Regions from separate parts of the Homo sapiens genome. Here region 1 is linked to region 2. The links are contacts of gene promoters, found by promoter capture Hi-C in human tissues and cell types (Jung and others, 2019). All regions are on one chromosome and are shown on one strand. The core of a region is centred on a gene start or on the middle of the fragment in contact, and the rest is flanking DNA. Distances in the headings are between cores, read along the strand shown. Region 1 overlaps LOC100996549 (a long non-coding RNA gene). Region 2 holds the start of KLF11 (KLF transcription factor 11).

What was found. The method cuts DNA at HindIII sites, captures the fragments that hold promoters and counts their contacts. A contact is called where the count stands out against the background at its distance.
Region 1: a fragment that was not itself captured here is called in contact with the fragment with the promoter of KLF11 in region 2 in 3 of the 25 tissues and cell types used here (IMR-90 fibroblasts, mesendoderm cells and thymus).

Annotation. Positions count from the first base shown.
Region 1 is chr2:9,769,585-9,772,450 of GRCh38, reverse strand. The region is part of intron 2 of LOC100996549 (a long non-coding RNA gene); the gene reads left to right. Among named protein-coding and RNA genes, the nearest start is that of TAF1B, 72 kb to the left of the region's middle. RefSeq lists enhancers at 407-1,334, 1,335-2,263. The HindIII fragment of the contact is 4,385 bases long and covers 1-2,866 here.
Region 2 is chr2:10,042,011-10,044,799 of GRCh38, reverse strand. KLF11 (KLF transcription factor 11) reads right to left here and starts at 1,250. Exons shown (of 4, transcript NM_003597.5): 1 at 1,042-1,250. The coding sequence starts at 1,083. KLF11-DT (KLF11 divergent transcript) reads left to right here and starts at 1,399. Exons shown (of 3, transcript NR_135558.1): 1 at 1,399-1,490; 2 at 1,796-2,167. RefSeq lists silencers at 557-626, 667-716, 837-886, 1,177-1,406 and a promoter at 1,093-1,992. The HindIII fragment of the contact is 11,158 bases long and covers 1-2,789 here.

The sequences.
Region 1 (2,866 bases), core at 233-2,732, 270 kb after region 2:
AAAATCCAGAATACATTATTTATTCAGGTCGGATATGAAGCTGCCTTTCCTTTTAGGAACATCAGCCCCACCCGCACATTGTCACTCATTTCCTTGTACCCTGGCAAGTCATTCACCCTATCTGGACCTCAGTGCTCTCCTCTGTAAAATGGGTGGAACACCAGGCAGGGGGTTGGGCTCTAAGGGCTTCCAGGGTCTAGAGCAGCCCAAAGACCCAGCCAAAGCGGGCCTCCTCCAGGAAGCCCTCCCACCTTCCCTTTGTGCTTCTGCAGCACTCTGCCATCCCCTGTCAAAGCTCTCACCACCTCCATGGCTTCACGCTTACACACCTGTCTTCCCACCAGAGTCTGAGCTCCTTGAGTTCTGGGACCGAGTTGGATGAATTTCCACATCCCCAGGCCCAGCACAGGGTGGGGCGTAGAGTCTCAGTGATTGTTGAATGAATGAATGAATGAATGAATGAGGCTCCAGTGTTTGAGCGAATGTGGCTTCTTCACCCTGCTGGGAGGCCTGGGTTTGGGAAGCTTCCCCTAAGTGTAGCTGGCCACTCATCCCTGGGAATTCTGAGATGATTTTCCCTCTGAGGACTCAGCTGGGGAGGGAAGACATAGGTTACCATGGCAACAGATTTTTTTTTTCCTGCCGGAGCAAACATTTCTACAGAAACCTCAAGAGATGCCAGCCAGTGCGGGGCGCTGCCTGTTTCTCCCACGCCCTCCCTGGCCTCTGAGCCCAGAGCTGGCCCTTCTCACTGGGTTTCTCAAAGCTGCCCACTGTAAGGCTGTGCCTGAGACCTAGGTCAGCCTTGGCCTCACATCCCCCGCCCCGTGCAGGCCCTCCCACCGGTCTGTTCACAGCCCAGGCTGTCAGCAGTGGGGGAGCCAGGCCCAGAGAGGGGAGCCATAGGGTGCCCTCTCCCAGCCCAGACAGGCTTCCTCTGCCATCCACCAGTGCCCTCCACCTCAAACCCAGGTGACAGCGCCTTCTTCCCCCTCCCCCATTCACAGGGCCCCGGGAGGCTACCAGGGGGCCACCTAGAGGAGCTGGGAGGGGTGGGGGTCCTCTGGAGAGGGGCAAGGTCTCTGAGCTCAGATCCTGCCAGCTCAGACCCATGGACCTCGGGTCCTGCTGGATCCCGTCTGGGACCCTGGGGTGGGAGGCCCCAGGAACAAAACTCAGAGAGGCCTTGTGACTTTCCCCAGGACACACAGCGAGTGAGGGAGGAGGCAGGAGTTGAGCCCCGGTTTCTCTGGAGACAAGGCCCAGCCTCTGCCTCCTGTCCTGCCAGGCTAGACTCCACCTTCCACTGCCTGGAAACAGGGGACAGATGGCCCCTTCTGGAAGCACTGGGGGTGCAGAGTGCCTCGCGAGCACTGAAGGTGTTGAGGGTCTGGCTCATGCCCTGCACTGCCCGTGTGTGGACTGCAGCGTGGAAACAGTGCTCAGAGAGGCTCCGTGGCCTTGCCCCAGCTCGCAAGTGGTGGCGTAGGACGCCGATGTCAGTGCTGTCGGGCTCTGTGACACTGTGCTATCTGTCCACGCCCCTGGACCGTCTTATTGAAGACAGGCAAGGAGGAGAGAACAGGGAAGGCGGAGGGGTGAGTGGCTGGTGGGACCACAGCCCAGGCCAGGGCCGGGGCAGGGAGCAGGGGAGGGCCTTTGACACCAGGCAGCTCCCTCCCAGAGGCCATAGGCACATGGAAGGGTGAGGCCGGGAGAAGCAGTTGAGCTCAGTGGCCCAAAGCAGGGACTCTGGGACCTGCCAGACAAGAGTCAAATCCCAGCTCCACCTCTTCCCAGGGTTCGTTTGCACTTGGGACAGCTGTTTCTTTCTGATCACAGCTTTCTCACTTGTAAAATGGGGAGAGCATTCAGTGGCTCCACCTGGCGGTGTATGAGGATGAATGAGACGGATGCATTTGAGGGCTGCTCTGGGGGAGGCCGCTGCTCTTTCGTGATTTGAATCCCATGCAGTCCCTGGGCTCCTCTGCCGCTCTTGCCTCTCTGTATCCCGGTACTTGGCCCTTAGCAGGCACTCCCAGGAGCTGCTGGAACAGGCTGAGTCCTGGCGCTTATCCGAGCTGTCTTGTTTGCACGTGCTCGTCTCCCACCCACTCACTGGTGAGCTCCGCAAGAGTGTACTTCTCTCCGTCCCTGGAGCGCCACGGCGTGCTGGTGCATAGTAAGCATCTGTCCATGTCTGTCCAGTTGAATTTCTTGAGAGTCATTTGACCTTCTCAGCAGCTCTGGAGGTAGGTCGATCAGGGTTCCTCATCCCATTTCACAGATGTGAAGACCCAGGTTGAGATTCACTGGGCAGGTTGCTCATGGTCCCAGAGTTGGTCGACAGGGACAGGCATCCTGATTTACTGTTTGACTCCCAGTCCTCTGTGATTCCCATTCCACTAGGCTGCAAAGGAGGGACCAGTGGAAAAGAAAGAGAGGTCAGGTGATGCCAGGAGGTGGGGAGAATCAGCTAGACCCTCCTCAGCCGTTTTCCTAAAACCAGCCACGATCCTTAGCTCCCCGCCTCTGCTTGCCCTCCCTGATAGCTTTGCCTTGGCTGTGAGCTCAGCACAGTTGCTGGTGGGGGACAGGAGTGGGAGTGAGTGGCACTGATGGGGGAGGCAGAGGCCCCATAGTCTGTGCTCCCAGCCAAGACCACAAATTCATGACCATTCCAGAGCTCCTCAGCTTCACCCCCACCTCAAGAGCCCCCCCGCTCCCATCCTGGAGCCTCCAGCACTGCCCAGTCCCTCCTGAGATCTGTGGATCTGCGGGCTCAGCAGCCGCCCACACGGAGCTCGCCTGCAGTGCTGCCTCTCTGGCTGTCATCTCCATGGCAACGCCCACCACCCCCGCTCAG
Region 2 (2,789 bases), core at 1-2,500:
AGAAAACTAAGCCGGGGGCGAGAGGGTGATATTACTCTGAGAAGAGTAATACCCCTCCCTCCCAGGGAGGTTACAGTGGGCCGAGATCGCGCGCCCACTGCACTCCGGCCTGGGCGATAGAGCGAGACTCCCTATCAAAAAAAAAAAAAAGGAAAGGAAACTTTAAATGTACGAAGATACACGTTTCCTCTCTATCTGCCATGCACCAAAGCATCAAAGCTTTCCGTCTGCCGAGGTTCCCCGAGATCAAACAAGACGAGGCCACCTCAAATCCCCGGCCTCTGTCCCGCAGGCTGCGCCACTAAACCCCCTGTGATGTCACAGAACCGGGCGCCGAGGCCGACTCACCACACGGGCGGGAAGGGGCTCGCCCGGCCCACAGTGCCCGCACACCACGAGGCCCGCGCTCTGCCCACGTCCACGGCTACCTCCCCGAAGCCCCCAGGTCGCGACGCTTAGGGCCCCCAACGCTCGCGTGCCGCGTTCCCGCCTCCAAGCGTTGCCCCGCCTCCAAGGCAGTGCGGCGCTCCCGCCTCCCGTCGTTGCCCCGGCCCCTAGACCTTGCCCGCCCCCAGGCCCGAGCGGCACTACCGCTAGCCGCTCTTAACCCGCCCGACGGCCGCGTGCCCCGCCCCCAAAACCGTGCCGCGTTCCCGCCAGCAGCTCTTGCCCCGCCCCCAAGGCCGCGTGCCGCGTTCCCGCCAGCCGCTCCCCCGCCCAACGGCCGTCCGGCTCACAGGACCGGGGTGACGTCATGGCTGGAAATAGCCGCGGGGCCAGCGGGGCGGGGCCGCCCAGGAAGCGCAAGACAAAGCTGCGCGGGGAACACGCCCCCTCCTCGCCCCCGCCGACCCGGGCGCGCCCGTCGCGGCCGCCGCCCCGCCCGGCTCCGGAGCCCGCCCAGGCCCCTACCGGCGCGGCCGCAGCGAAGCCCTGCACGCCCCACCTCCCGCATTTACAGGCGCGCGAGTGCCGCACCACTTCCCCCGCCTCGCCCCTCGCTCAGACGAGTAGTCCCGCCGCGGCAGCCCCACCACTCACTGCGCGCGCGTCGTCTGGGCCTGCGAAGTCCGGCGTGTGCATCGTGCAGGCCGGCCGGGAGCAACAAAGCGGCCGCGGGGCGTGAGCTCGGGCGCAGCAGCGGCCGCACGTGGGCTGCGGGCGGCGGCGGCGGCGGCAACCCGGAGCTCCTGCGGCCGGCACGCGCCTCGCCCGCCCGCGCGGCTCTGCCCCGGCGCGGCCCTCGCGGCGCGGGAGGGGCGGGGCGGCCGCGGAGGGAGCGGCTGGCGGGGCGGGGCGCGGAGGCGAACCAAAATACACCGCGCCCCTGCCGGGGCGGGGCCGGCCACCACCAGCCAATTCGTGCCCGGCCGGCCAATGAGCGCCGCGGGGGGCCGCGTGATCGGAGCCTGGCCGCGGCGTGATCGGGCAGGGCGGGACGCGGCACGTGTTTTGGTCGGAGCGAGGGGCGGGGCCTGAGGCCCTGGAAAGTAAGGGAAAGGTCGCAGCGGCGCCAGGGGCAAGCGGGGCGGAGGGGGCGGCGGGGGCGGAGGGGGCGGCGGGGGCGGAGGGGGCGGCGGGGCGGCGGGGGCGGCGGGGCGGAGGGGGCGGGGCGGCGGCTGGGGAAATCCCAGGGCCGGGGCCGGACTCGGTGCGGGGAGAGGGGACCACGCTTATAGGAACCTCCTGCAGCCCCACCGGCTGAATCCATCGGTAGCGGAGACCCACCTAGAGGCCTCAACCTGGCTTTTGTTTGGTTGTTTTTAACTTCTGTCATTCTCCCTTCGTCTCTTAGGAATGCGTCCTTGACCGGAGAGGTCGGAAAGCTGGCCGGTTCTAGGTGACATTCCTGCATCCGGTCATTTTTGCAGACAGCGGGAGTCAGAGCTTATTGGCCTGAGTGTCCCGCTGACGCCCCTCCTCTGGCGTCTCTGGGCCTCTTCCGCTCTGTTACGGGGTCAGGGGAAGCCGAAACGGGCAGTCACCCAGAAGGCGCCCGCTGAAACCCGCCCATTCTTCCCAGGCCCCGAGAAAACGCCGCCCCCTCCGGGAAGTCCTCGAGCCTGCAGGAGACATCTAGCCCGCTGTCCAGGGCACCTTTTTTTTTCTCCCTATATTTCGGTTGCTCGCGTCTCTTGGTGTGGTTTGCCCACGTCTGCAGCGCCAGGTTCGTGGAGAGCAGGAACCATGCTGTTTATTTTCGTCGCCGCAGCCTTCAGCTCAGCGAGGAGCCACCCCTCCTCCGTCTGTTCACTGCGCGCGCCTTTGCTGAGCTGTGATGCGGGTTGGCGCTCAGTGCAAGGGGCAGAGGCCGCAGTGAGGAATCCTCCTTTTTTAAAAGCTCCATCCAGGGAGCGGGAGCAGAGAGAGAATCCCGGCACCCCGGGGCTTTGCTCTGAGCGAGAGAATTCTGGTCTTAGGGGAACGGGCTGGGCCCCACCACTCACATGAGCAGGACTCTGGTCCCCACTTGTTCCTTCGGGGCCCACTCGGGTTGGGCAGAGGGGTTGACCAGGCTGAGGAGAGGGTGTTTGCTGAAATAGTAAGAGGGTTTAAGACGAAAGAACCGTGATAAACTGCTCGCATGAAGACCCCGGAGGCTCTGAGAGGGGCGCAGGGTGTTCTGTGTGTAAAAAGTTAAGTCTTAAGATACACACTGGAATATTCTCTTTTGCCTGGACTCCTGCATTCGCCTTATAACTGGTCTCCCTGCGTCCACTCCAGCTCCCAGAGCCTCTTCCCACTCAGCACCCCCAGGGGTCTTTAACCCTTTCAGTGGCTCCCACTGT